7 separate regions of the Homo sapiens genome follow, and regions 2, 3, 4, 5, 6 and 7 are each linked to region 1. Evidence: promoter capture Hi-C in 16 types of primary human blood cells and fetal thymus (Javierre and others, 2016). All regions are on one chromosome and are shown on one strand. Each heading gives the region's core, a stretch centred on a gene start or on the middle of the fragment in contact. The rest is flanking DNA. Distances are from core to core; before and after follow the strand shown.

What was found. The method cuts DNA at HindIII sites, captures the fragments that hold promoters and counts their contacts. A CHiCAGO score of 5 or more calls a contact.
Region 2: a contact is called between a fragment that was not itself captured here and the fragment with the promoter of HDDC3 in region 1, in 2 of 17 cell types (total CD4 T cells and fetal thymus). The highest score is 6.0, in total CD4 T cells.
Region 3: a fragment that was not itself captured here is called in contact with the fragment with the promoter of HDDC3 in region 1 in 1 of 17 cell types (erythroblasts); the score reaches 5.2 in erythroblasts.
Region 4: a contact is called between a fragment that was not itself captured here and the fragment with the promoter of HDDC3 in region 1, in 3 of 17 cell types (total CD4 T cells, fetal thymus and naive CD8 T cells). The highest score is 6.6, in total CD4 T cells.
Region 5: a fragment that was not itself captured here is called in contact with the fragment with the promoter of HDDC3 in region 1 in 7 of 17 cell types (total B cells, naive CD8 T cells, total CD4 T cells and 4 more); the score reaches 9.0 in total B cells.
Region 6: a fragment that was not itself captured here is called in contact with the fragment with the promoter of HDDC3 in region 1 in 1 of 17 cell types (naive B cells); the score reaches 5.1 in naive B cells.
Region 7: a fragment that was not itself captured here is called in contact with the fragment with the promoter of HDDC3 in region 1 in 1 of 17 cell types (naive B cells); the score reaches 5.8 in naive B cells.

What each region holds. Positions count from the first base shown.
Region 1 is chr15:90,930,800-90,934,744 of GRCh38, reverse strand. It overlaps HDDC3 (HD domain containing 3), which reads left to right and starts at 2,196. Exons shown (of 4, transcript NM_001286451.2): 1 at 2,196-2,316; 2 at 2,635-2,690; 3 at 2,801-3,041; 4 at 3,340-3,945. The coding sequence starts at 2,205. The coding sequence ends at 3,470. It also overlaps a transcript of UNC45A not described here. RefSeq lists enhancers at 275-374, 1,999-2,048, 2,799-3,028. The HindIII fragment of the contact is 1,585 bases long and covers 839-2,423 here.
Region 2 is chr15:90,095,891-90,099,835 of GRCh38, reverse strand. All of the region lies in intron 1 of IDH2 (isocitrate dehydrogenase (NADP(+)) 2), which reads left to right. Among named protein-coding and RNA genes, the nearest start is that of IDH2-DT, 4.3 kb to the left of the region's middle. RefSeq lists an enhancer at 3,886-3,945. The HindIII fragment of the contact is 4,798 bases long and covers 1-3,945 here.
Region 3 is chr15:90,143,702-90,147,646 of GRCh38, reverse strand. No RefSeq gene overlaps it. Among named protein-coding and RNA genes, the nearest start is that of IDH2, 43 kb to the right of the region's middle. RefSeq lists an enhancer at 3,572-3,945. The HindIII fragment of the contact is 7,167 bases long and covers 1-3,945 here.
Region 4 is chr15:90,268,219-90,272,163 of GRCh38, reverse strand. NGRN (neugrin, neurite outgrowth associated) reads right to left here. Exons shown (of 3, transcript NM_001033088.3): 3 at 1-976. The coding sequence ends at 376. Among named protein-coding and RNA genes, the nearest start is that of NGRN, 4.5 kb to the right of the region's middle. The HindIII fragment of the contact is 6,495 bases long and covers 1-3,945 here.
Region 5 is chr15:90,323,621-90,327,565 of GRCh38, reverse strand. No RefSeq gene overlaps it. Among named protein-coding and RNA genes, the nearest start is that of ZNF774, 27 kb to the left of the region's middle. The HindIII fragment of the contact is 8,593 bases long and covers 1-3,945 here.
Region 6 is chr15:90,344,514-90,348,458 of GRCh38, reverse strand. It overlaps the pseudogene GABARAPL3. Among named protein-coding and RNA genes, the nearest start is that of ZNF774, 5.8 kb to the left of the region's middle. The HindIII fragment of the contact is 2,574 bases long and covers 405-2,978 here.
Region 7 is chr15:90,362,401-90,366,345 of GRCh38, reverse strand. ZNF774 (zinc finger protein 774) reads right to left here. Exons shown (of 4, transcript NM_001004309.3): 4 at 3,499-3,945. Among named protein-coding and RNA genes, the nearest start is that of ZNF774, 12 kb to the right of the region's middle. RefSeq lists a silencer at 3,175-3,469. The HindIII fragment of the contact is 7,636 bases long and covers 1-3,945 here.

The DNA of each region.
Region 1 (3,945 bases), core at 947-3,446:
CCCCATTACCAGCTTGCACAGCCCCCTGAACTTCTCCTTTGTAATTGTAATCATGATCTACATGATTTTCTGTTGCGGTCTGTCCCTTCACTAGTCTGTAAGTTACAAGCCTACCACCCCATAATTTAGGAACAGAGCCCCAGATACTGGAACACCCTGTCGATGTTCCAGTGGCTCTGGGGTTGGAGATCTCACCTGAGGATGGGCGGGGGCGGAAGAGCGGACAGATTGACTTGGTACAGGGCCTCAAATTCAGCCCGGGTGCAGCAGGAGCCCCCTGCAGCCTGCAGGTGGCAGCAGTAGGCTTCCTCTGGAGAATCAGACAGACGAGGGCAAAAGAAACCAGGGTAGTGACGGCCATGGACATCCCGGGTGGTCTGGCACAAGTGAGGGTGGTGGACCAGAGCTGAAGAGAGAGGTGGGGGTGCTAGAGACAAGCAGGAGGGGCCTTTCCACAGCTCACTCCACCCCTACTGGAGAGTAAAAGAGATCAGCCCCTACCAGAAGAAAAGATGCCCTTCCACCCATCCCCATCAGTTCCAGTTCCCAGGAATAGCCCATAGCACCAGAGGCAGGTGGGCCACAGGGGTAAGTGCTGTACCTGAGAGAGAGGTTGGCTGGACAAGGGTCACCCAGCTGAAGAGCAGCAGTAGCCCCACAGATAGGCCTGTCAGCAAGGGGCCTGACCTTCTCTGGATGCCCATGAGAGTTCACTACCACCTCTGTCCTGGTCCTGGGAACCCCAACATCTCTCTTTCTAGGCCGTGACTGCAGACAATAAGGAAATAAAAGTCAAAGCCCCAAGGCCCTTGGGCACCATTAATACGAGCCTGAAGCTTCTCTATCACAGGCTTTTAGAGAGAGATGACAGGGACTGGGTTTCTGTCTCCTGTTGGAAAACGTGGGGCCTGCATTGCCAAACTGCTGAAGGAGAGAAGGCTCAAAGGACTAGAGGACAGAATGAGGGATGAGAGAGCAGCTGAGCCATTAGTATGAAGAACAAACAAGCATTTACAGCCAAATATGTTTCTACCCATTCTCCAACTTCCAGGCTGCCATGGAAGCTCTGGGAATTCTGACCCTCCTATTTCAGGTCCCAGAGACCTCAGTTCCAGCATGTGGGGCTTCCCTCCCTAACCTCTGCTACGTGGCAACCACCAAGACTAGCTGAAAACCAAGGGTGACTCCTTTCATTAGCCTTTCCCCTGAGCCTTATCTGCCCCAGCTACCAGCCAGAACACAAAAGCTACATGTCTGATTAGAGTATACTTAGCTAATAGGGAACCCCCTCTCACAGAGAAGTTCTATGGGGATCACCAGGTCTCTCTTACCCCTCAGCTGCCCCTAAGGCAGGGAATTTCTCCAGAAGGCCACCAGCCAGCAGAATTAAGTGTTATTCCAGTGCCTACCCAGGCCTGACAACATCATGCTCCCAGGACAGCAGTGACAACACTCATCACCCCAGGGGCCCACAGAAGATGCCTAGAGACTGAAATAGGAGCTCTCATAGCATAAGAAGACAAGGCAAATTTCATCTGCAACACTGAGGACAAACAAAGGCAGTTCCTGCAGAAACGTCACAGCTACCTGGGAGCCTAAGTCTGAAGCAATTAGGCAGGGCTCCCAGGGAAGGCTCTGATTTTTCAGGTCAGGCCCTAGGGTCTCCTGGAGGGTCCAAAGGTAGACTCCCCTGCCCACAGAACCTGGCCCATCCCTACAGGGAGAACTATTTTTAGAACACTTGGAGAATTTTCAGAGCTTTTACAGGTTGAAGATGGTTCTTGGGGGGAGCTTCTGGGAGAAGCTGTCTCTGACTCTGAGGGTGTGGGGATTGTTCTTTCTTCCCGCTCCCATAGTCCCCTGAGCCTTGGCCACCCTGGATTCAGAGCACTGTGAGGCCACTGCCTTATTTCTTGTCTGTCTTCCTCTTTTCCACAGACTGTGGGCTCCCAAAGAGCCAGGCTTATGTTCTTCTTGCACCCCCAACAGAGCACACTGAGCTGGGGGCTGCGATGCTGAAGGCAGCTGTCCACATCACTTGCTCTCTGCGCGGGCCGGTCAGCTCCAGAGGAATTCATCTGGGGCAGGCCCAACTCGGCCCGCTGAATTAGCCTCCACGATCCCCGGGCCTCCCCGGCGCCAGGGGGCGCTGTAAACGTTCCGTCCCTGCCCCTGCGGCCGCAGTCGTCGGCCCCATCCGCGCGATGGGCTCTGAGGCGGCGCAGCTGCTGGAGGCTGCCGACTTCGCGGCTCGCAAGCACCGGCAGCAGCGGCGGAAGGACCCCGAGGGGACCCCCTACATCAACCACCCCATCGGTGGGCGCGTCGGCCGCGGAGCGCCGGCTGCGGCACCTGGGTGGTGGGGACTGGGAAGGAAACGTGGGGGGCGTGCACCTCATTGAGCACCTGTTTTGTCCCAAGCTTAGTGCGATATACCGTTTAAGCCTCATAACAATTGGAACGGTAGGCATGATCGTTCCCTTTGTCGGTTGGCTCCCAGAGGGTAAGGTACTTGACCAAGGTCACCCAGCTAGTCAGAGTCCACAAGGGGCCACATCTGGCTCTCCAAAACCCACAACACACCGCCTTGGGACTACCTCCGACCTGACTTCCTGCTTTGCCCCTCCCCGTCAGGTGTGGCACGGATCCTGACCCACGAGGCGGGAATCACTGACATTGTGGTGTTACAGGTAACTTTCCCCCTTCTCTGCCAGGAGCCTGGGATGGGGATTAGGGGCCCCATTCAGCAATGGGCAACCCTTGGCTGACATCTCAGGGCTGAGTGGGAACTTGTCCCCAGGCGGCCCTGCTCCATGACACGGTGGAGGACACAGACACCACCCTGGATGAGGTGGAGCTACACTTTGGGGCACAAGTGCGGCGCCTGGTGGAGGAGGTAACAGATGACAAGACTCTGCCCAAGCTGGAGAGAAAGAGGCTGCAGGTGGAGCAAGCGCCCCACAGTAGCCCCGGGGCCAAACTGGTGAAGCTGGCAGACAAGCTGTACAATCTGAGGGACCTGAATCGCTGCACCCCAGAGGGTACGCTTTCGTATGGGCTGTAAGGGAAAAGGGAGGGGGATGCCGCCTTCTGAAGACACATGTTGGTCAGTTCCCCTGAAAAACCCTGGGCATTCTTAATTCCCAAATTAATCCTACTGGACCACTCTTTGATCTTCTTTCATACAGTAAAAATACAATAGCTGGGCCAAGGGGAAGTTTTCAGGACAGCTCATTCCATCAGGAACTCATGGCCTTGAACCAAGCTTGCCAGGAAGTGGGGAAAAGGCAGTGCTTTCCTTGACATCACGCTAGCAAGTTTCTGTCGACTCTTATGCAGGATGGTCAGAACATCGAGTCCAGGAATACTTCGAGTGGGCAGCGCAGGTGGTGAAGGGGCTTCAGGGAACAAACCGGCAACTGGAAGAGGCTCTAAAGCATCTGTTCAAGCAGCGGGGGCTGACAATCTGATCAGTGCTTGAAGCTATCCAGAGGCACAACTCCAGCCTCGTTCAGGCCGGACAGGATTCATACGCCATCTTTTCTGTGTCTCCTGAGCTCCCTCCATCCTTCCCAGATATTAGAGGCCAAAAAAAGACTTGCATTTTTTCTCAGTCTGAAGGTCTCCTGCTAACTAAGCTGAGCCCCGCGTGGTGGGAATCAGATGTACCCATCCATTTCTGATGCACTCACCGCCTCTCCCCAAGTCTTGGGTCTGTTTGCTATTTTGCATGGTGGGATCTCTGGCCCCTCAGGGACTTGAGATTATTTAAGTACTAGTTCCTAACACGTTCTGGAAAATAAAAATAACTCTGGGTTAAGGTTTAAGCTGCTGCTGCTCCTTCTCCAGCCTCCGACTGGTGGGCTGCATATCTTTCCTTCAGCAAAGCAGGACTAATTGTGTGTCCCGGAGTCACCTCCCTCAGGTTGCGGGCCTCAACCCCTC
Region 2 (3,945 bases), core at 833-3,332, 830 kb after region 1:
ATTCTGATGTGGGAGGGGGCAGACAGTAAGCAAGATAGATGTTGACTAGTATGATATATGGGTACAAGAGCTAAGGAAGGCCAGGCACTGTGGCTTACACCTGTAATCCCAGAATTTTGGGGGGCTGAGGTGGGAGGATTGCTTGAGGCTGGGAGCTCCAGACCAGCCTGGGCAATATAGTGAGACCCCATCTCTACAAAAATAAAAAATAAAATTAGCCAGGCACGATGGTGCATGTCTGTGGTCTTAGCTACTCAGGAGGATCATTTGAGCCCAGGAGGTCAAGGCTGCAGTGAGGTACAATTGTGCCACTGCACTCTAGCCTGGGTGACAAAGCAAGACCCTGCCTCCCCCTTCTCCCCCCAAAAAGAGAAGAGCTAAGGAGAAACAGGCAAGAAAGGTGTGTGCACAAAAGTTTGTATAGGGCAGCCAGAAAAGTCCTCACTGAAGGAATCGCTGAGGAGGGGAGGAAGCAGGCCATTTTCGGTATTGGGGGAAGAGGGACTCGCAGGTGCCAAGGGCATGATGGAAGAGCAGAGAGGATGGTGCGAAGGCTGGCTCAGCAGGCACCAGGTGGAGTGACAGGATGAGGTTCGGCAGTGGGGTCTGTAGAGGGCTCACAGGCCATTTTTGAGAGCTTTCGCTTTTACTTTGCAGGGTTTTGAGAGGAGTATCGTTACCTGATTTCCATCTTATCGGGAGCATTCTAGCTTCAGGGACCTGGCAAGAGAGGATGATGGCTTGGACCTGGGTGGTGGCGCTGGGGATGGTGAAGAAGTGGTTGGATTCTGGATATATTTTGAAGGAGGAGCCAGTAGTGGGGAAAGGTTCCAATTCAGGCGATTTTACATAAAAATCTAGATACGCAGCAGGCACTCACTTATGGCAAGGGTGGGCTTGTCTGAGGGTGGCTTCTGGTTTTGGTGGTTTGGATGTGAGAGAAGGGAAGGAATGAAGGATGACACCAAGGAGTCTACTAGAGTTTGTTCCAAAATGGCTGTTCTGGCCGCGTGCGGTGGCTCCCAGGACTTTGGGAGGCCGAAGCAGGCGGATCAGTTGGGGCCAGGAGTTCGAGACCTGCCTGGCCACCATGGTGAAACCCGGTCTCTACTAAAAATACAAAAATTAGCTGGGTGTGGTGGCAGGCGCCTGTAGTCCCAGCTACTCAGGGGCTGAGGCAGGAGAATTGCCTGAACCCAGGAGGTGGAGCTTGCAGTGAGCCGAGATCACGCCACTGCCCTCCAGTGTAGGCGACAGAGTGAGACTCTGTCTCAATACATACATACATACATACATACATACATGCATGCATACATACATACATACATACATAAAATATACAAAGTTGCTGTCCTGCCTTCTTGAGCCCCCAGGAATTGGAACCTTTCCCCACTCTCTGATCTTTTGCTGGGACATGCTGACTGAGCAGCCTTTCTGCTGAGAGCATGGGTAGGAATGTGGAGGGAGCAGTTATGCCTGGGGCTGGCTGCCTGCGGCTGGACCTCTAGCCTCCTGCTGGGAGCAGCAAGAAGCCAGGGATGTGTTTTGAAATCCTTACTTGGTATTGGGTGCTAGGAGCCCCAGACAGGGAGGAGAGTCAGCCTAACGTGCCTCTGGTGACTGGTGTAATTCCATCCTGCACTCTCGCCAAGAGGACAGTGTTTGTGCAATGCATCAGCTGAAGATTCGTGGTGGCTGTCACTTCGGAGGTTTTCAGGGAGGCCTAGCTGCTGCTCTGTGTATTTCAGGTAGCTTGTCACCACTTATCTCTCAGAGAAGGGCAGACCATGGCTGTATCTCCACCATACAGGCTGAACAGCAGACAGGGGTCTCAAACTCCAGTGCCCTGGGCCACACTGGAGGGCACTTGGCTGTCATGGAGTGAAGGGAGAGGCCGCCTTCAGCCCAGCCCATCCTTGCCATGAGTGAGTGCCTGCTGCATTTCTAGATTTTTATATAAAATCTCCTGATTTTTTTTGACTGGTTTAAATTTTTATTATTTTGGTAAAAAACGTATAAAACTTACCATCTTAGTCATTGTTCAGTGTACAGTATTGTTAAGTACATTCGCACTGTTGTGCAGACATTACCACCATCCATCACCAGAACTTTGTCACCTTGCAAAACCGAAACTCTCTACCCATGAAACAATACCTCCCCACTTCCCGTCCCCAGTCCCTGGCAGCCACCTTTTTACTTTCTGTTTCTATGAATTTGACTATTCTAGGTACCTCATGTAAGTAGAAGCATATAGTATTTGTCTTTTGTGACTGGTTTATTTCACTTAGTTAGCATAATGCCCCCCAGGTTCATCCACTTTGTAGCAGGTGTCAGAATTTCCCTTCTTTTCAAGGCTGAATCATATTCCATTGTATGTAGATAACAGTAGTCCCCCTTATCCTTGGAGGATGCATTTCAAGATCCCCAGTGGATACCTGAAACTGCAAAGCCTGTAGATACTATGTTTTTTTCCTATACATACAGATCTATGATAAAGTTTAATTTATGAATTAGGAACAGTAAGAGATTAGCAATAATAACTAGTAATAAAATAGAACAATTATAACAATATACTGTAATGAAAGTTACATGAATGTGATCTCTTAAAATATCTTACTGTACTGTACTCACCTATTTTCAGACTATGGTTGACTGTGGGTAACTGACACCACAGGTAACTGACGTCATGGAAATAAAACCTTTGATAAGGGGGGACTGTATCACATTGTCTTTATCCATTCATCTGTGATGGACACGTGGGTTGCTTCTATCTTTTGCTGTTGTGAACATTGCTGCTATGAATGTGGGCATACATATATCTCTTTCAGACCCCGCTTTCGATATTTTTGGATGTATATACAGAAGCAGAATTGCTGGATCATATAGTAATTCTTGTCCTTTTCTTTTCTTTTTTTTTTTCGAGACGGAGTCTTGCTCTCTTTCGCCCATGCTGGAGTGCAGTGGCGCGATCTCAGCTCACTGCAAGCTCCGCCTCCCGGGTTCATGCCATTCTCCTGCCTCAGCCTCCCCAGTAGCTGGGACTACAGGCGCCTGCCACCACGCCTGGCTAATTTTTTGTATTTTTAGTAGAGTCAGGGTTTCACTGTGTTAGCCAGGATGGTCTCGATCTTCTGACCTCGTGATCCACCCGCCTCAGCCTTCCACAGTGCTGGGATTACAGGTGCGAGCCACCGTGCCCGGCAGTAATTCTTTTCCTTTTAGCTAAGGAACACCCATACTGTTTTCCACAGCAGCTGCACCATTTCACATTCCCACCAACAGGGCACAAGAGTTCCAATTTCTCCACATCCTTGCTAGCACTTTATTTTCTGTTTTGTTTTTCTTTTCCTGATAGTAGCTCTCTTAGTGGTTGTGAGGGGATAGTGGGGTGATATCTCATTATGGTTTTGATTTGCATTTCCCTGATGATTAGTGATGTTGAGCATCTTTTCATGTGCTTGTTGGCCATTTGTATATCATCTTTGGACTTGAAATGTCTATTTAAGTCTTTTGTCCATTATATTTATTTATTTATTTTGAGATGGAGTCTTCCTGTTACCCAGGCTGGAGTGCAGTGGCATGATCTCTGCTCACTGCAACCTCCACCTCCTGGGTTCAAGCAATTCTCCTGCCTCAGCCTCCCAAATAGCTGGGACTACAGGTGTGTGTCACCACACCAGGCTAATTTTTTTTCTATTTTTAGTAGACACAGAGTTTCACCATTGTGGCCAGGCTGGTCTCGAACTCCTGACCTCAAGTGATCTGCCCTCTTCAGCCTTCCAAAGTGCTGGGATTACAGGCATGAGCCACGGTGCCCAGCCAGTCTTCTGTCCATTTTAACGTTGAGTTATTTGTTTTATTGTTGAGATTTACTGATTTTTAAAACTTGGTCACCAATTAAGATTTTTTTAAAAAACCAGTACCTGGAACAAGCAGAACAAGTCT
Region 3 (3,945 bases), core at 647-3,146, 790 kb after region 1:
GGAGGCTGAGGTGGAAGGATCACCTGAGCCTAGGGGAGGTCAAGGATGTAGTGAGTTGTGATCGTGCCACACTCCAGTCTAGGCAACAGAGTGAGACCCTGTCTCAAAAAAAAGTAAAATAACTCCCTAATTATTGATTATATTGGGTTACATAGAATATATTGTAATACATAGAATATATTATTTGTTTGTTTGTTTTTGAGATGGAGTCTCACTCTGTTGCCCAGGCTGGAGTGTAGTGGCACCATCTCGGCTCACTGCAACCTCCACCTCCAGGCTGGAGTGTAGTGGCACCATCTCGGCTCACTGCAACCTCCACCTCCAGGCTTCAACCGGTTCTTCTGCCTCAGCCTCCTGAGTAGCTGGGATTACAGGCGTATGCCATCACGCCTGGCTAATTTTTGTATTTTTGGTAGAGACGGGCTTTCCCCATATTGGCCAGGCTGGTCTTGAACTTCTGACCTCAAGTGATCTGCCTGCCTCAGCCTCCCAAACTGCTGGGAGGACAGGAGTGAGCCACCACACTCAGTCTAAATAGAATATATTATTACAATTAATTTCACCAGTGGGTTTTTTGTTTTTACTTTTAAAAATGCAGCTACTAGAGTTTTTAAAACTACGCTCTTTTCTGCCATGGTGAAAAGTAAATTAATAAATTAAAAAACAACTACTAGGCCAGGCGCAGTGGCTCACGCCTGTAATCCTAGCACTTTGGGAGGCCGAGGCGGGCGGATCACCTGAGGTCTGGAGTTTGAGACCAGCCTGACCAACATGGAGAAACCCCATCTCCACTAAAAATACAAAATTAGCCGGGCATGGTGGCACATGCCTGTAATCCCAGCTACTCGGGAGGCTGAGGCAGGAGAGTCACTTGAACCCGGGAGGCGGAGGTTGCGGTGAGCCAAGATCACACTATTGCACTCCAGCCTGGGCAACAAGAGTGAAACTCCATCTCAAAAAAAACCCAAAAACAAACATTAACAACAACAACAAAACTACCTATGTGGCTTGCATTATGTGTTTATTGGACAGCAGCTGCTTAGAACAAGCCTGGTGTGGAGTAAGTCAGTGTAATTGTTAGCTGCTGTCAGTGTTCAGTGCCTGACACGTGGTAAGGGCTTATTGAAGAGCAGTTTTTTGGTTTTTGTTTTGTTTTGAAATGGAGTCTAGTTCTTTCACCCAGGCTGGAGTGCGGTGGTGCGATCTCAGCTCACTGCAACCTCCGCCTCCCAGGTTCAAGTGATTCTCATGCCTCAGCCTCCTGAGTAGCTGGGATTACAGGTGCTCCCCACCATGCCTGGCTAATTTTTGTATTTTTAGTAGAGACCGGGTTTCACCATGTTGGCCAGGCTGGTCTCAAACTACTGAACTCAGGCAATCTGCCTGCCTTAAACTCCCAAAGTGCTAGGATTATGAGCATGAGCAACCATGCCTGGCCTGTTTTTTTTTTTTTTCTTTTTTTGTGACAGGGTCTCACTTTGTCGTCCAGGCTGAATGAGTGTAGTGGTGTGATGTCAGCTCACTGCAGCCTAGATGTTCTGGGCTCACACAGTCCTCTCACCTCAGCCTTCTGAATAGCTCTGACTATAGGCATACACCACCATGTCCTGCTAAGTTTTCTACTTTTTTAGAGACGGGGTCTTGCTATGTTGCCCAGGCTGGTCGCAAACTCCTAGGCTCAAGCGATCCTCCTGCCTCAACTTCCCAAAGTGTTGGGATTACAGGTGGAGAGCCACTGTGCCTGGCCTTGAATGGCAGTTTTGAAGACTTCTCTCCATCCCCTCTCTTGCCTCTCTGCCTTGGCAATCCAACCTGGAAAGCATTGTCTGTTTCCTTCCCAGCTTGTCCTATTCACCGGCAGTGAGAGCCCTGTCTTTCCTTTGATCCTCCCAACTCCCAGTGCCTCTCCAGGGGTGCTGAGCCCCCCAGTGGATTTCCATGCTGGTGGGACTTTCTGGGTGTCCAGTTTCCCATCACCTCCCCTCTCCCACCAGCTCTGGGCCCGAGTACCTCTGCGTTCCCCCGGAGTCCACCCACCTGGGGTGTTGTGATCACTCTTTGCCATCGTCACTCTCGGGTTTTCTCCTTAGGCCCTGCTCTTCTGAGGCTTGATCTGTGATGCCGGGAGAGGTGGGACGCTGCCAGAAGGGGCTACTGGCAGGCTGCCAAGAGGCTGCCCACAGAGGCCTTTGCCCTGACAAATTCACCCCTGGGGCCCTGGGTCTGCCCTCCGCCTGGCAGCTGGTGGAGAGGAGAGCCAGGTCCCAGCTGTGGACTCAGACTAATCAATTGCTCAGGAGGCCAATATATACACCAGGTGGTAAGTTTCCAATGCATTTAGCAGGGTGAGACCGGTTTTTGTTTAGGAAAATATCTTGATAGCCACTTTTGTTGAGGAAGGGGAGGTGCTAAGGACATAGTTGAAGGAAGATGTTTAAACACAGGAGGAATCAAACGGCTTTACAGAGAACGTTAACCGGAACTTGGGGGCGAGGGACCCCAAAAGAGAAGAAGAAATGGAAAGATGGTCATAGAAATGAAGGGTGAAGGAGGGAGGAGGGAGGGAGAAAACAAAATGGCAAGGGCAGAGCCTGGGAGGTATGTGTCCACTGAGAATTTCACAGTGGCGGGGAGACCAAAGGGCTTTTTTTTTTTTTTTGAGACTCTTGTTGCCCAGGCTGGAGTGCAATGGCGTGATCTCAGCTCACTGCAACCTCCGCCTCTGGGTTCAAGTGATTCTCCTACCTCAGCCTCCCGAGTAGCTCGGATTACGGGCATGTGCTGCCACACCCAGCTAATTTTGTATTTTTAGTAAGATGGAGTTTCTCGATGTTGGTCATGTTGGTCTTGAACTCCCAACCTCAGGTGATCCGCCCGCCTCAGCCTCCCAAAGTGTTGGGATCACAGGAGTGAGCCACTGCACCCAGCCTCGAAGGACTTTTTTTTTTTCTTTTCTTTTTTTTTTTTTGGTGATGGAGTCTTGCTCTGTGGCCCAGGCTGGAGTACAGTGGTGCGATCTCAGCTCACTACAGCTTCTGCCTCCCAGGTTCAAGCAATTCTCCTGCCTCAGCCTCCTGAGTAGCTGGGACTACGGGCGCATGCCACCACCCCCGGCTAATTCTTTAATTTTTAGTAAAGACGGGGTTTCACCATGTTGGCCAGGCTGGTCTCGAACTCTTGTCCTTGTGATCTGCCTGTCTTGGCCTCCCAAAGTGTTGGGATTACAGGCATGAGCCACCATGCCAGACCTCAAAGGACTTTTAAGAACAGGATCTGTACTATTCTTTTTGAAATGGTTTGTTTTCCTACTAAGTACACCCCAGTACACCCCTCTATTGCCCAAGCCTTCAGTAAAAGCTGTAGCTCATGTGACAAGAAAGCATAGAAAGGCCGGGCACGGTGGCTCACACCTGTAATCCCAGCACTTTCACTTTGGGAGGCTGAGGCGGGTGGGTCACCTGAGGTCAGGAGTTTGAGACCAGCCTGGCCAACATGGTGAAACCGCATCTCCATTAAAAATACGAAAAAGCCGGGCGTTGTGGCTCACGCCTGTAATCCCAGCACTTTGGGAGGCCAAGGTGGGTGGATCACGAGGTCAAAAGTTCAAGACCAGCCTGATCAACATGGTGAAACCCCATCTCTACCAGAAATACAAAAATTAGCCGGGTGTGGTGGCGGGTGTCTGTAGTCCCAGCTACTCGGGAGGCTGAGACAGGAGAATCGCTTGAACCTGGGAGGCAGAGGTTACAGTGAGCTGAGATCACGTCACTGCACTCCAGTCTGGGTGACAGAAAAAGACTGTCTCATTAAAAAAAAAAAAGAAAGAAAGAAAAGAAAGAAAAAAGAAAGCATAGAAAGAGGGCTTTTTTTTTTTTTTTTTCTAGGATGGGCACAGAGCAGAGGGACATCACCGGGAAGTGAGAGGCAGGGACTCAGGAGGTCAAC
Region 4 (3,945 bases), core at 763-3,262, 660 kb after region 1:
AGTTGTCCCCAAAATGTTAGTGTTCACTGATCAAGAAGGAAATGAGGTCAGAAGGCAAACTTTTCACTTCTTCTCAAACATAAATTGCAAGTATCACAGAAAATTGTAACAACACATGCAACACGGGATGGCTTTCAACACACAGAGAGCCTAAGCAAGAAGAGTGAGTACTGAAGGTCTACAGAGGTCAGACTGGGAGCACTACCACAGGAAGTTTGAATCTATCCACGCAGCTCTTTCCTCCCACAGTCCAGGCTCAACACCTCTTCCTATTCCAAGGTGGCTTATCCATATGCAGAAATCCAGGCTGTTCCATATACATTAATACTTGCCCAGCTGTGTTTCACGAGGCATCTCCATAAGCCAAGCCCCGACTCAAATTCTGTACAGGAAGTTCCCGTTGCTGTCAAAGAACTCTCGGCCCCTCTGCACTACTTTGCTGCTGAAGTTATCTGGCTCCTCTGCCTTCAACTCCTCCAGCTTCTGACCACTTGGCAACGCACCACTGCCAGTTCCTCTGGGGCTCTCAGAATCACTGGAGTACTTCTGCAGCTCTCTTGGATGACCTAGGGGTGCAGCAACAGGCACAAAGCTCTCCTCCAGGTCCTGGATTTCTTTATTTCTTCCCTTCCTTCTCCTTGGTGTATTTGTCCTGTGAGTGTCTGACTCTATCACTTTCAAAGCTGTGCTGTGATTTGGGTCTTTAGATGAGGCTTCATGCCCTGGCATAAGCAAAGAGCCTGATACAGAGTGGCCTGCAGGGAGCAGCTTTGAGGTATTTCCAGAGCCCCGGAGGTGCTGCAGCGAGTGGGCAAGCCCAGCTTTCTTAAGGACTTTTTGATCCTGCTTCAGCTTCTGCTCCAATGTGGGTAAAAACTTGCTTTTTAAAACTCTTCGGATCACATCAGTGCTGACATCAAAGCCTTCAGCCAACCTGGGAACTGACCAGGACTCTGGAAATTCCTCATGTAAATACCTACGGGAAGAAGGAGCAGGTTTGCAAGTTGTGAAGAAGTCTCCTATCAGAACATCTAACTCGCAATACCTATGATAAAGAAGAGGGGTTGAGGCCTGGCATGGTGGCTCACACCTGTAATCCCAGAACTCTGAGAGGCCGAGATAGGCGGATCACTTGAGCCCAGGAGTTCGAGACCAGTGATTCTTGTGCCTGAGCCTCCGAAGTAGCTGGGATTACAGGCATGAGCTACCACGTGGCACAAGAATCACTTGAACCTGGGAGGTGAAGGCTGCGGTGAGCCGAGATTGCACCACTGCACCACTGCACTCCAGCCTGGGCAACAGAGTGAGACTCTCCCAAAAAAACAAAAAAAGAGAGCTTGAAAAACCGCAAATGTAGTCCCTATCTTGTGCTAGCTAAATCTTGTGCTAGTCCCTATCTTGTGCTAGTTAAATGGCTGTGTTCCATTTCTGTGTGTCAACAGCAACACCTGACCACTGTCAGTCAGGTCACTTCATTTCACATCAACTCAGCTCCTCTCACTGACATCTAATACCACAATAGATCCTGGGGACGCAGGAGGACTGACCTTCCCATTACATAGTTTGGGAGTGGGGACAGACAAAATAAATGACATTATGGTAAAGGTTATAGCACAGGATGCAAAGACAGCACCCCAGGAGGGAGACCCAGATATAGGGAATAAGAACACTTATAGCCAGGCCCAGGAATTGCTTCATGAAGTCCAAGCTAGAGTTGGTCTGAAAGGATGAAAGGAGTAATAAGCTGGCAGAAGGGAGGAGAGAAGGAGAGATGAAAGATACTGATGATAAAGTGAAGAGCTTGTGAAATGTAAAGCGGCACATCACCTTTGTTGGGAATAACTCAACTGACAGTGAGGGTAAGAAGTAGATCACACTTAGGGGTCTGGAGTTTATCCCAAGGCAACAGCAAGTCAAGGAAAAATTTTAAGCAGTGGAATGCCACAGATAAATTTTCATTTTGAAGTTCAACCTACAGCCTGGCACAATGGCTCACTCCCAGCACTTTGAGAGGCTGAGGCAGGAGGATTGCTTGAGCCCAGGAGTTCGAGACCAGCCTGGGAAACAGGGAGATCCCATCTCTATTAAAAAAAGAAAAAAAGGAATTCAACCTAGTGGTAGTTTTTCAGTGACAAAAGTATAGGCAGAAAGATTGGTCAAGAGGCTTTTACAGTAATCCAGATAGTCTCGAGTGAGACAGTCAATGGAGCATAGGAGGAAAGTGAGTTGAGAAATATTTTAAGAAAGTCAAATAGTACAACTTGGTACTAAGGGACTAAATATTGGGGGAAGCATCATCAAGGCCAAGATGCAGGATTTTAGCTTGGGTAATCAGTAGGTTATAGGAAAAACAGGAACAGAATGAAGTTGTCAGGGAACAACGATGAATTCTATTTTGTACATGCTGAGTTTGAGGAAACTGTGATATCCAAAACAGAGATGTCTGGTACACAGTTGAATATATGCCTTTAGATTTCAGGAAAAAAAACATGAACTGGAGATGACAGATTTGGAAGTCATAAGCCAATAGCAGGGGTGACTGAGTGGCTAGCATCAGGCAGGGAAATATGCAGAGTGAACTAAAATGACAAGGACAGAACTCTATGAAATAACAATATTTAAGATATAGGAGGTAGAAGAGGAGCCCAGGAAGGAAACTGAGAAAAGCAGCCCTAGAAACAAAGAAAAAAAGATCAGAAGGGAATGGTACCCTGGAGTCAAGGGAGAAGAGAATTTTAAGAAAGCAGTTCACCATGGCACATGTACACCTATATAACAAACCTGCACATTCTGCACATGTACCCCAGAACTTAAAGTAAAATTAAAATAATAAAAATAAAAAAAGGCTGGGTATGGTGGCTCACGCCCGCCTGTAATCCCAGCACTTTTGGGAGGCTAAGGCAGGCAGATCACTTGAGGTCAGGAGTTCAAGACCAGCCTGGCCAACACGCTGAACCCAACCTCTACTAAAAATCCAAAAAAAAAAAAAAAAAAAAAAAAATTAGCCAGGTATAGTGGTGTGCACCTGTAATTCCATCTACTTGGAAGGCTGAGGCACGACAATCACTTGAACCCAGGAGGCAGAGGTTGCAGTGAGCCAAGATCATGCCACTGCACTCCAGCCTGGCAGCAGAATGAGACTCCGTCTCAAAAAAAAAAAAAAAAAAAAAAGAGAGAATCAGTGTCAATCAATAAATAAATAATGGGGGGGGGGGGGTGGGAGAAAGCAGTTTCAGCTGGGTGCAGTAGCTCACACCTGTAATCCTAACACTTTGGGAGGCCAAGGCAGGCAGATCGCTTGAGCTCAGAAACTGGAGACCAGGTTGGGCAACATGGCAAAATCCTGTCTTTATTTAAAATATATATATATATTTTAATTTAAAAGGCAGTTTTTACAAGGGCAAATGCTGCTGAATTATTTAGGACGCTAAGGACTACAAAGTGTCTTTTTGAGCCTAGCACTGAGGAAGTCACTGATGGATTTAAGGAGAGCAGTTTTATTGCAGTGATACAAACAAACAAAGGGTAGGCACCCTGGGAACCAGCTGGGAACAAAAGAATGAGAGAGAGCTTTAGGTTGAGGACAGAGGTCCTTGAGTAATCTTATGCAGGGAGAAATATGACCTAAAGCATACAGAGAATTGGTCCCAGACAAGTGAAGGGCTCCCATTTCCTCTGAAATGGGAGTAGAGTATAAGTTTGAGAGTAGTGGGCAAAGAGGAAGACCAGGAAGCTGAAAGTTTTTACTTAATGGACTGTTTTTTTTTTTTCCTCTTAAAAGGACATTTATTGACCACAATAAAGGGAGATAAGTAGGAAGGTGGAAGGTTTGAAAAAGCTATTGTTGAAGACAGGAGATAGAGGCCGGCATGGTGGCTCATGCCTGTAATCCCAGCACTTTGGGAGGCCGAGGTGGGTGGATCACCTGAGGTCAGGGGTTTGAGA
Region 5 (3,945 bases), core at 809-3,308, 610 kb after region 1:
AAGTATACAGTTCAGTAAGTACATTCATAATGTTGCACAACCATCACCACCACACATCTGCAGAACTCTTTTCATCTTGTAAAACTGAAACTCTATACCCATTAAGCAATAACTCCCCACTTTCCCCTGTCCCCAGCCCCCGGCAATTATCGTCATATTTTCTGTCTCTATAATGTTTTTATTTTTTATTCTTTTGAAACAGGGTCTCGCTCTGTTGCTCAGGCTGGAATACAATGGTGTGATCATAGCTCACTGCAGCCTTGACCTCCCAGGTTCAAGTTATCCTCCCACCTCAGTTTCTGGAATACCTGGGATTACAAGCGTGTGCCACCATGCCTGACTATTTTATTTTATTTTATTCTATTTTATTTTATTTTTGGAGAGAGAGGGTCTCACTATGTTGCTCAGGCTAGCGTCAAACTGCTGGGCTCAAGCAATCCTCCCACCTCGGCCTCCCAAAGTGCTGGGATTACAGGTGTGAGCCACTATGCCTGGCCTCTAAGATTTTAACTACTCTAAGTACCTCATATAAGCTGACTCGTACAGTATTTGTCTTTGTCTGACTGGCTTATTTCACTTATAATGTTCTCAGATTTCACCTGTCTCAAAAAATAAAATAAAATAATATTGATTGAGACTTAATTTGTAGCCTGACCTACCAACACCTGCCTCACGCACAGCACGCCCATCTAGATTTCAATTGTAGTTGCTATGCGTATGGTGGCTCAGTTCAGCTGGGCTCAATTCCTGGTGCTGATTGTAATGCTACTTTGGGAAGCTAAGGAAGGGGGATTGCTTGAACCCAGGAGTCAAGGCTGTAGTGAGCCATGATTGTGCCACTGCACTCCAGCCTGGGTGACAGAGCAAGACCTTGTTTCAAAAAAAAAAAAAAAGGAAGAAATGATTACAACCATCGATTAGTCATTAGTGCCATGCCTTAGCTGAGAACTTCTTCTCTGGGCCATTCTGCAGCCCTCTGGAATGGCTTTAGGACCTGGCTACCAGGCTCCCCTTATCCCAGTGTCTTGCTCTCATCCTCAGTGGCTTCAGCATACTTATTTATTTTATTATTTTTTTTGGTGGGGGGACGGAGTTTCGCTATTGTCGCCCAGGCTGGAGTCCAATGGCACGATCTCAGCTTGCTGCAACCTCCGTGTCCCGGGTTCAAGTGATTCTCCTGCCTCAGCCCCCTGAGTAGTTGGGATTATAGGTGCCCGCCACACACCCAGCTAATTTTTTGTATTTTTAGTAGAGATGGGGTTTCACCACGTTGGCCAGGCTGGTCTAGAACTCCTGACCTCAAGTGATCCACCTGCCGTGGCCTCCTGAAGTGCTGGGATTACAGGTGTGAGCCACCGTGCCCGGCCTCATCCTTATTAATTACAGCACCACCACCTGTGCTCATGGTCCCTTTACCTCCTCTGCTCCAGTAACCTCGAAAGGCCAGCCACATCACAGAGCTGCTTCCATTTCAGCCTCTCAACTCCATCTCTCCTTTTCCCTTAGAATAACTGGGGCTGCCCATTATCCTTGCCACAGCCTCCTCTGCTTCCTTGCTTATTGTTCCTTTTCTACCTCCTCCCTCAGTCTGGACTCCACGGTCGGCTCTTCAACCATGTTCCTGCTAGTGGCTTACGGTTCCTGTTCTCCAACTTTCTAATCTACCTACTGTGTCATCCCCAAGCAGGGGATTCCCTGCCATCTACTTCTGCAACTCTCAGGCTGGCAGAAGTGGCCTCCATGCTGCCCAGTCAGAAGGGCCTGTGTGGCCAACACAGCTGCCGCCCCAGTTCCATCCTTCATTCTCTTTCCTTCCAGTTGTCCAGGCCTTGCCATCTGACTGGCCTGGAGAGTAGGGAAGAGATGGGGAAAACAAAGGAGGGGTGCAAACATCTGGAGCTCAGTGCCCTGGTCTGCTCAGCCTGGGGGAGATTCTCCTCCCTCCTCTTCCTCCCCTGCTCTGTTCCTTCACCTTCTTCCGCCTTGAGGACTCCCTGATTCCCTTATATATCCATGAAAACTTTTACATCACTAAATAAATTGCCTTTTTTTTTTTAAATGAAGTCTCTCTCTGTTGCCCAGGCTGAAGGGCAGTGGCATGATCTCGGCTCACTGCAACCTCCGCCTCTTGGGTTCAAGTGATTCTCCCACCTCAACCTCCCGAGTAGCTGGGATTACAGGCGTGCGCTACCATGCCTGGTTGACTTTTTTTTTTTTTTTTTTTTTTTGGATTTTTAGTAGAAACAGGGTTTTACCATGTTGGCCAGTCTGGTCTCAAACTCTTGACCTCAAGAGATCTGCCCACCTGGGCCTCCCAAAGTGCTGGGATTACAGGTGTGAGCCACCATGCCCCAGTGAAATTGCTTAATTTCACAAACATTTTGAGAGTCAACTGGGAACTGTCAACCTAGAAGGAAGCTGAAGCAAAATTAATATAAGTAGAGAATTTATCTGGGGCTGGGCATAGTGGTACACTCCTGTAATCGAGGATTCTGGGAGGCTGAGTTGGGAGGATTGCTTGCCAGGAGTTTGAGAACAGCCTGGGCAGCATAGTGAAACCCCATCTGTACAAAAAATTTAAAAATTAGCCAGGCATGGTGGCTCATGTCTGTAGTCCCAGCTACTCAGGAGGCTGAAGCAGGAGGATTGCTTGAGCCCAGGAGTTCGAGGTTATGGTGAGCTAAGATCCTGCCACTGCACTCCAGTCTGGGCAACAGGAGCAAGACCTTTTCTCTTAAAAAAAAATAAATAACAATAGTAAGACAGAGGATCTATTTGGGCCAAGCTAGATATTGCAAACTGGGAGCATAGAGTCAAGTTACCCTCAGTATACATCCTGATTAGCAGCAGTTGTGAGGCAGGAGGCAGGCCTGTACTCCAGGCCAGATTGAAGACTAGCTGAAACAGGGAAGAGGGGAAAGCACCTCTCCATAACACATGCCCACCAGTGCCATGTCAGTTTACCAGTGCCCTGGCAACACCCAGAAGTTACTGCCCCTTTCCATGGCAACAACCTGGGAGTTATACCCTTTTCCTAGAAATTTCTGAAAAACCCATCCCTTAATTTGCATGTAATTAAAAGTGGGTATAAATATGACTGTGGAACTGCCCCTTAGCTGCTACTCTCCACACACTGACTATGGGCTAGCTCTTCCTGCAGGAGCAGTTACAGAGCGGTAACACTGCTGCCTCAATAAAACTGGTTTTGGTGGCGGGGCGTGGTGGCTCACACCTGTAATCCCAGCACTTTGGGAGGCCGAGGTGGGTGAATCACCTGAGGTCAGGAGTTCAAGACAAGCCTGACCAACATGGTGAAAATACAAAATACAAAAATTACTAAATTATTATTATTACTAAAAATAATAGCCTCCCAAGTAGCTGGGATTACAGGCATGCACCACCACCCCCTGCTAATTTTGTCTTTTTAGTAGAGACGGGGATTTCACCATGTTGTCACCTTGGTCTCGAACTCCTGACCTCAAGTTGTCCACCTCACCTTGGCCTCCCAGAGTGCTAGGATTATAGGCGTGAGCCACCGCGCACAGTCAAGAAACCTCTTTTCTACAAATAAATAAATAAAAAATTAGCCAGGTGTTGTGGTGCCCATCTGTAGTCCCAGCTACTCAGAAGGCTGAGGTGGGAGGATCGCTTGAGCCCAGGAGGTCAAGGCTGCACTGGGCTGTGATCATGCCACTGCACTCCAGCCTGGGAAACAAAGCAGGACCCTTTCTTAAAAAAAAAAAAAAAGGATTTGCATTAGTCAGATAAAAATTATTATTTTTTTCATAACTTTTTATTTTAGAAATGAGTGGAAAAAGTGCTCGCCCTTCAGGAACTCCCCAGTAGCTCACTGCCTCCAGTAGTTTTAGGGTCTTGAGAAGGGGCTAAAGTGAGGTGGAGAAAACCACAAATAGACTATAGTGCATGGACCCTACGTTGTTTTAT
Region 6 (3,945 bases), core at 442-2,941, 590 kb after region 1:
CAGAGATTCTGTTTTTGACAGTTGCACAAGACAGGTAGGGAAAGGGGACTTGTGGTAGTGGGCCATACCTGGGGACGAAAAGAGACCCACTGTAATTGATGCATCGTGGCCCCCGATCTTCCGTATCCCACACTTCTTTTCTCCCATCCCAGTTGCAATCTCACTCACAAACATCACAGTACCACCCCAGGGGCGGCAGTAGACACCAACCCAGAAATTTAGACAGGGATCTCTTATCTTTGGAAAATAGGGGTTAGGCATGAGGGTGGTTATGATTAAGAAGATAATTTTGTTGTTAAATAGCATTAAACTGGAATTGACAGAGTGAGTTGAGCATCTCTGTCTAACCTGCTCTTTCTCTCTGGTGCTCCTCATCTCACCCCTACCTTGGAATTTAATAAGCTTCAGGCATTTCCAATTGCAGACTAAAACCACTTCTACCATCTCCTCTAGTATTTTCCATGTATCAGGACAGAGATGTCTTATGTAGGGAAGGGGCAGGTATGAAGTGAGGTAGATTATCTATACCTCTCACTCATTCAGGATTCTCGCTCCCATGCTGCTGTCCCTTCATTCTCACACTCACAGGAATGCTATGTGATGGCCAGCTGCTTCCCTTCTTGGTTATCCACTGCAGCTGCTAGTTAGAAAGGTTTGCAGGGATGACTTTTAGTAAATCATGGGGATTTTATTGATTTATTATCACTTATAGGATTTTGTGGGGTGGGAGTGGGGAGCAGGAATTGCACTCAGACATGACATTTCAATTCATCTCTGCAAATGAAAAGGGTTCTTCCTCTTGGGGGAAATCTGTGTGTCAGTTCTGTCAGCTGCAAGTTCTTGTGTAATGAAGTCAATGCTGTCAGGCCAAGTGAAGGGAAAAGAGAGATCAGACTGTTACTGTGTCTATGTAGAAAGGAAAGACATAAGAGACTCCATTTTGAAAAAGACCTGTACTTTAAACAATTGCTTTGCTGAGATGTTGTTAATTTGTAGCTTTGCCCCAGCCACTTTGACCCAACCACTGTGACCCAACTTGGAGCTCACAAAAACATGTGTTGTATAAAATCAAGGTTTAAGTGATCCAGGGCTGTGCAGGACGTGCCTTGTTAACAAAATGTTTACAAGCAGTATACTTGGTGAAAGTCATCGCCATTCTCTAGTCTCAATAAGCCATGGGCACAATGTACTGTGGAAAGCTGCAGGGACCTCTGCCCTTGAAAGCGGGGTATTGTCCAAGTTTTCTCCCCGTGTGATAGTCTGAAATATGGCCTCGTGGGATGAGAAAGACCTGACTGTCCCCCAGCCCGACACCCGTAAAGGGTCTGTGCTGAGGTGGATTAGTAAAAGAGGAAAGCCTCTTGCAGTTGAGATAGAGGAAGGCCACTGTCTCCTGTCTGCCCCTGGGAACTGAATGTCTCGGTATAAAACCCGATTGTACATTTGTTCAATTCTGAGATAGGAGAAAAACCGCCCTATGGTGGGAGGCGAGATATGTTTGCAGTAATGCTGCCTTGTTATTCTTTACTCCGCTGAGATGTTTGGGTGGAGAGAAACATAAATCTGGCTTACGTGCACGTCCAGTCATAGTACATTCCCTTGAACTTAATTATGACATAGATTCCTTTGCTCACATGTTTTTTGCTGACCTTCTCCTTATTATCACCCTGCTCTCCTACTACATTCCTTTTTGCTGAAATAATGAAAATAATAATCAATAAAAACTGAGGGAACTCAGAGGCCGGTGCCAGTGCAGGTCCTTGGTGTGTTGAGTGCCGGTCCCCTGGGCCCACTGTTGTTTCTCTATACTTTGTCTCTGTGTCTTATTTGTTTTCTCAGTCTCTTGTCCCACCCGACTAGAAATACCCACAGGTGTGGAGGGGCAGGCCACCCCTTCACCAAGGAAATGAAATAATTGCTTACCTTAAAAAACAAAACAAAACATTTGCCAGGTGCAGTGGCTTATGCCTGTAATCCCAGCACTTTGGGAAGCTGAGGCAGGAGGATTGCTTGAGCCCAGGAGTTCAAGACCAGCCTGGGCAACATGGCAAGGCCTCGTCTCTACTAAAAATAAAAAAATCAGCTGGGTTTGGTGATGCGTACGTGTAGTCTCAGCTACCTGGGAAGCTGAGGTAAGAGGATCACTTGAGCCTGGGGAGATTGAGGCTGCAGTGAGCCAGGATGGCACCACTGCACTCTGGCCTGGAAGACAGAGTGAAACCCTGTCTCAAAAAAAATTATTTTATTTCTGTTGATTAGGAATCTGGAACAGCCTAGGTGAGTATCTCTAATTGAAGGTCTCTCACAAGGTTGCAGTCTAGACACTGGCTGGGACTACAGTTATCTGTAGGATTGACTGGGGCTGGATGATCAGCTTGCTCCCAAGCTCCCTCATGTGACTGTTTCCTCACGTGTAGCTTCTCCTCACAACGTGTCAGCTGGCTTCCCCAGGGTGAGTGATTGAGAGAAAGAAGCAGAAGCTGCAATCTAACCTTGGAAGTGATAGACCATCATTTCTGCCATACTCCTTTGGTCACACAGACCAACCCTGGTACAGTGTGGGAGGGGACTACACAAAGGTATGAATACTTGGAGGCAAGGATCACAGTGAGTGTATTAGTCTGGGTTCTCCAGAGAGAAAGAATCAATAGGATATATAGATATAGAGAACCAGGGAAGCCAGTAGTGTGAGTCAGTTTAAGTTCAAAGGCCCAAGAACTTGAGGGGCTGCTGGTGCAAGTCCTGAAGTCTGAAGGCTGAAGAACCTGGAGTTCTGATGTCTAACATCAGGAGAAGGGTGTCCCAGCTCAGAAGAGAGAGAGAGAAAATTCGCCTTTCCTCTGCCCTTTTGCACTATCTGGGCCCTCAGCTGAGTGGATGCTACCATCCACCCTGGGTGAGGGCAGATCTTCCTTATCAGTCTACTGATTTAAATGCCAGTCTCTTCCAAACACACTTACAGGCATAACTATAAAGCTTTCTCAGCTATCTGGGTATTCCTTAATCTAGTCAAGTTGACACCTGAAACTTTTTTTTTAGAGACAGGGTCTCACTCTCTTACCCAGGCTTCCATGCAGTGGTGTGATCATAGTTCATTGCAGCCTCAAACTCCCAGGTTCAAGTGATCCTTCCACCTCAGCCTCCCAAGCAGCTAGGACTATAGGCATGTGCTACTGCACTTGGCTAATTTTAAAATTTTTTATAGAGAGGGGGTCTTGCTATGTTGCTGAGGCTGGTCTTGAACTCCTGGGCTCAAGTGAGCCCCCTGCCTCAGTCTCCCAAAGTGCTGGGATTACAGGCTTGAACCACCACACCCAGCTGACACCTAAAATTAACCATCATAGTGGGCCACCTTAGAGGCTGACTACCACAGGGACTACAGAGGACTTTAGGACATTGTCCTTGTGATGTACTCCATCATGCTCCTATGACAGCTCTTTAAGGAAACTTACAGTAAAGATCTCTATGTATGGGGAACTGGGGAGACGATCCCATTACTCAAACTAGGAGCCTTAGAGACTTCTGCAACCCTTCATGCTACATAGGATCAAAGTCTTGGGTACTACCTCTTACCTTCTTGCTACTCAATTCAGCTATGACTGCCAGTTCTACTCTGTTGCAACCATAGAATGTTGGCTCCAGAATGCTCTATGGGTCAGTTTCCTTCAACACTTCAAAAAAGAAGTAGGCTACAAGTTCCTTTATTTCAGCTTCCCCTCAACCTCTCTGGGGTTCCTATTATTACCCTTCCCTACCTTTCCCATTGATGTTAATTTCCCTGGCCTACCTTTAATCATGGAAGGCTGTCAAGAAGTGTATTTATTAGGAACTGCACTTGTCCATATGCAAGAGAACCCTGACTACTGTGGTTTATCCAAATCAGGGATTATTTTTCTCATGTATCAAGAAGTCTAAAAAGGCTGGTTGCAGTGGCTCACACCTGTA
Region 7 (3,945 bases), core at 385-2,884, 570 kb after region 1:
TTAAAAGGCCGGGCTTGGTGGCATGTGCCTGTAGTCCTAGCTGTTACTCAGGAGGCTGAGACAGGAGGATTGCTTGAGTCTGGGAGGTTGAGGCTGCAGTGAGCCATGATCGCACCACTGCTCTCCAGCCTCAGCAAAAGAATGAGACCCCATCTCTAAAAAATAATAAACATATGTAAATGGCATCAAACAGTAAAGAGTTGTTGAATCAGAAGAAGACTAACAAGAGGCCTTCAGATGTGGAAATTAAGTCTTTTTTTTTTTTTAAGAGACAAGTTCTAGCTCTGTCACGCAATCTGGAGTACGGTGGTATGATCACAGCTCACTGCAGCCTTGAACTCCTGGGCTCAGGCAATCCGCAATCCTCCCACCTCAGCCTCCCAAGTACTTGGGATGACAGGCGCACATCACCATGCCTGGCTAATTTGTTGAAACTATTTTTTGTAGAGACAGGGTCTGGCTATGGTGCCCAGGCTGGTCTTGAACCTCTGGGCTCAAGCAGTCCTCTGGCTTCGGCCTCCCAAAATGCTGGCATTACAGGTGTGAGCCACCACACTCAGCCCTAAAAGACCTTTGAGGGTCCAGTTGTAGAAGCATGCTAGGGTAAGTGGCCCTATTAAAAAGGCCTAGGCATGATAACCCTGAGAATATCTACATGTGAGTGGAAGTTTGACAAAAGGGGAAGAGAAGGAATGCGATGATAGGGTCTAGGAGGAATTATTTCGAGGTAAAAGAAGGGTTAGGGATCTTATCTTTTTGTTGTGGTGCCTGCCCTGGTGCTTGGTGATAACGACTCGCTGGAGACCTACTGCGTGCTGGGCACTGTGCTAAGCCCTTTACATCATGGATTGTCTCAAAGCCTTTAGTTTTTTTCTCCGTAATATGACCTACACACAGCGGCCAAATTGACCTTCTCAAGTGCGGATCGCGCCTCTCCTCTCCTATAAAACCACTAGCTACACCCTTTTCTCCAGAGAGTAAGATCCAAACCCTTTAGTTTGGCAGCTAAGAACCTTCTTGGTGTGACCTTCACTCACCTGTCCAGTTTTGTCTCACTCTGCTGCTTTTCCAGCACAATGAGATCCTTGCCCATGAGCATGCACTCATTAATTCATCCAGTAAACACATATTGAGCACCTACCATGTGCCAGGCACTGTTCTAAGTGCTGTGGAAAGAATGGAAACAAGAGAAATGACTCCCACCTTTCGTGGAGTTTACCAAAAACAAATCAATTAATAAGAAATTGCCAGACAGGTGTAAGGACTTTGATGAAAAAAGAGGATAATGTGATGGAGGGTGACTAATTTAGATGGGATAGTTAGGGAAAGTCTTCCTAAGGAGATAGGTTTAGGCTGAAACCTGGTTGACAAATAGGAGGCAACACAAAGGACTGGGCGAGGAACATTCTGGGCAGAGGGAACAGTTAGTACCAAGGGTCTAAAGAGCACACAACCTTGGCATGACCAAGGAGCAGAGAACTCAAGAGTGCTGAGGTGAGGCAAGGGAGAGGGAAGGGGATATCACAAGAGGATGGAGGGGGAGGGGACAAAACCACAAGGGCCTCTTAGGCCTGGGTAAGGATTTGGGTCTTCATTCTAAAAGCAATGGAAAGCTGCTGAGAAGTGATGTGATTCGATTTAGGATTTTAAAAGTTCACTCTGGTTTCTGTGAGTGAAACCAGTTTTTTCAGAGCAAAAATCATATCAGGAAGATCAGTTTGGAGGCTGCTACAGGAATTCAGGTAAGAGACTGGTCATTTGGTACTGAAGGGTGGCAGTGAAGATGGACAGATTTGACAGATAGGTTCGAGAGGAATCTGGGAGGTAAAATTAATGGGGCTTGGTGATGACCTCAATTTTGGAGTGAGAAAGAACGGATGTGTGGAGCATGTTCAAGCAGTGAATCATCTAGTCATGAGGTAGAAACAAAAGAAAACTATAGAAAGGGTTACCTCCACTCTCAGCAATAGCATTGAAATATTCCCTGCTCATGGCTGGCGGGGGAGTGGGGGGGGGTGGGCAGGAAGACAGGGAGGAGGGAGGGGATTGGCAGGGCCACAAAGCAAATCTCACATTGCCCTTCGAGAGCTCACATTTTACCATAGCCAAACAACATGAAAATCAAAGTGATAGGTGGCCAGGTGAGGTGGCTCTCGCCTGTAATCCCAGCACTTTGGGAGGCCAAGGCAGGTGGATCACCTGAGGTCAGGAGGTCAAGACCCGCCTGGCCAACATGGTGAAACCCCGTCTCTACTTAACATATAAAATTAGCTGGGCATGGTGACATGCATCTGTAATCCCAGCTACTCCGGAGGCTGAGGCAGGAGAATCGCTTGAACCTGGGAGGCAGAGGTTGCAGTGAGCCAAGATCATGCCATTGCACTCCAGCATGGGCAACAGAGCAAGACTTCACCTAAAAAAAACAAAAAACAAAAAAACCCTCACATCTTACAATAGCTGAACAACATGAAAAACAAACAAAATGATAGGTGGCCAGGCACGGTGGCTCACACCTGTAATCCCAGCACTTTGGGAGGCTGAGGCAGGCAGATCACCTGAGGTGAGGAGTTCGAGACTAGGTGTGATCTCAGCTCACTGCAGCCTCCATTTCCTGGGTTCAAGTGATTCTCCTGCCTCAGCCTCCCAAATTGGTGGGATTACAGGCACATGCCACCACACCTGGATAATTTTTGTATTTTTAGTATAGGTGGGGTTTTGCCATGTTGGCCAGGCTGGTCTCAAACTCCTGACCTCAGGTGGTCCACCCGCCTCGGCCTCCTAGAGTGCTGGGATTACAGGTGTGAGCCACTGCACCCGGCCTGAATCTGCATTTCTAAAAAGTTCCCAGATAATGCTGATGCTACTGGACTGGGCTCACAGTTTGAGAACCACTGCACTGGATTAACTAAAAAAAATTTTCTGGTCAATTATCTAATGATGCTTTCAAAAACTGAGGTAAGGTTATCAGCTGAGTTCTATCCTTCATGAGCCACAGCACTCAGATGGCATTCCATATAATGGAAGAGAATGAAAGAAAAGAAACCTTTAATCCACCACTTTGCACTCTAAAAAGTGATAACTACCCAGCTCCCTCCTTAACCCCTTGCATTTGCGCTCACTCCTCCACCCCCATTCCACCAGGATCAAGGACCCCAGCACAGGTTCTTGCAAAGCTCCCTACAACTTAGACTACACCCTCCATCATTTCCAAATTCAGACTGGTTTAATGGATATAATATGGGTCCTCCAGTCCTGTAATGTCTCACAGGCACTGTAACAAATCCCAGAGCTGGTCTGTTGTTGCAGAGGAGGACTGCAGGCTGGAAATCTAGTGACTTGCAGCCAAATCTGGCTCTTCTGTTAACTACGTGGCCCATGATGAGTCATGTCATTTAGCATTTTTACGCCCTAATTTTTCAACAGTTTTTTTTTTTTTTAATCCCTCACTATGAGAGAAAAAGGAATACCTAAAGAAATATTAGCCAAAATTTTCTTGGAAAAAAGACATTAGCAACAGAATTATAACATAGAGATATTACATTTATAGTTAACCAACAAAGTGTGTGTGTGTGTGTGTGTGTGTGTGTGTGTGTGTGTATTTTTAGATCCTCACAACAACCTTGTGAGGTAGGTAAAACTTGAGGCTGGGAGAAGATGAAAGTCTGGCCAAATTAAGCGTCAGGGCCAGGACTCAAATACTTTACCTTCTCAATGAAGTCGGTGTTCTTTCCAACACACTTGCCGTCCCTCAATTTATTTCAATTGAATGTAGGAATGTACTAGTGCATAACCTGGATGGCCCTAAAAGGATCAGAGAATTATATTAACCTAAAACTAAATGGCCAATGACCCAGCAAATTAGAAAACAAGAGTTGCTTCCTTCAGCTAAATGCCAGGGAGGATCCCTGTAATATCATTTGACATTCTCAGCAATTTTGCTTCCAC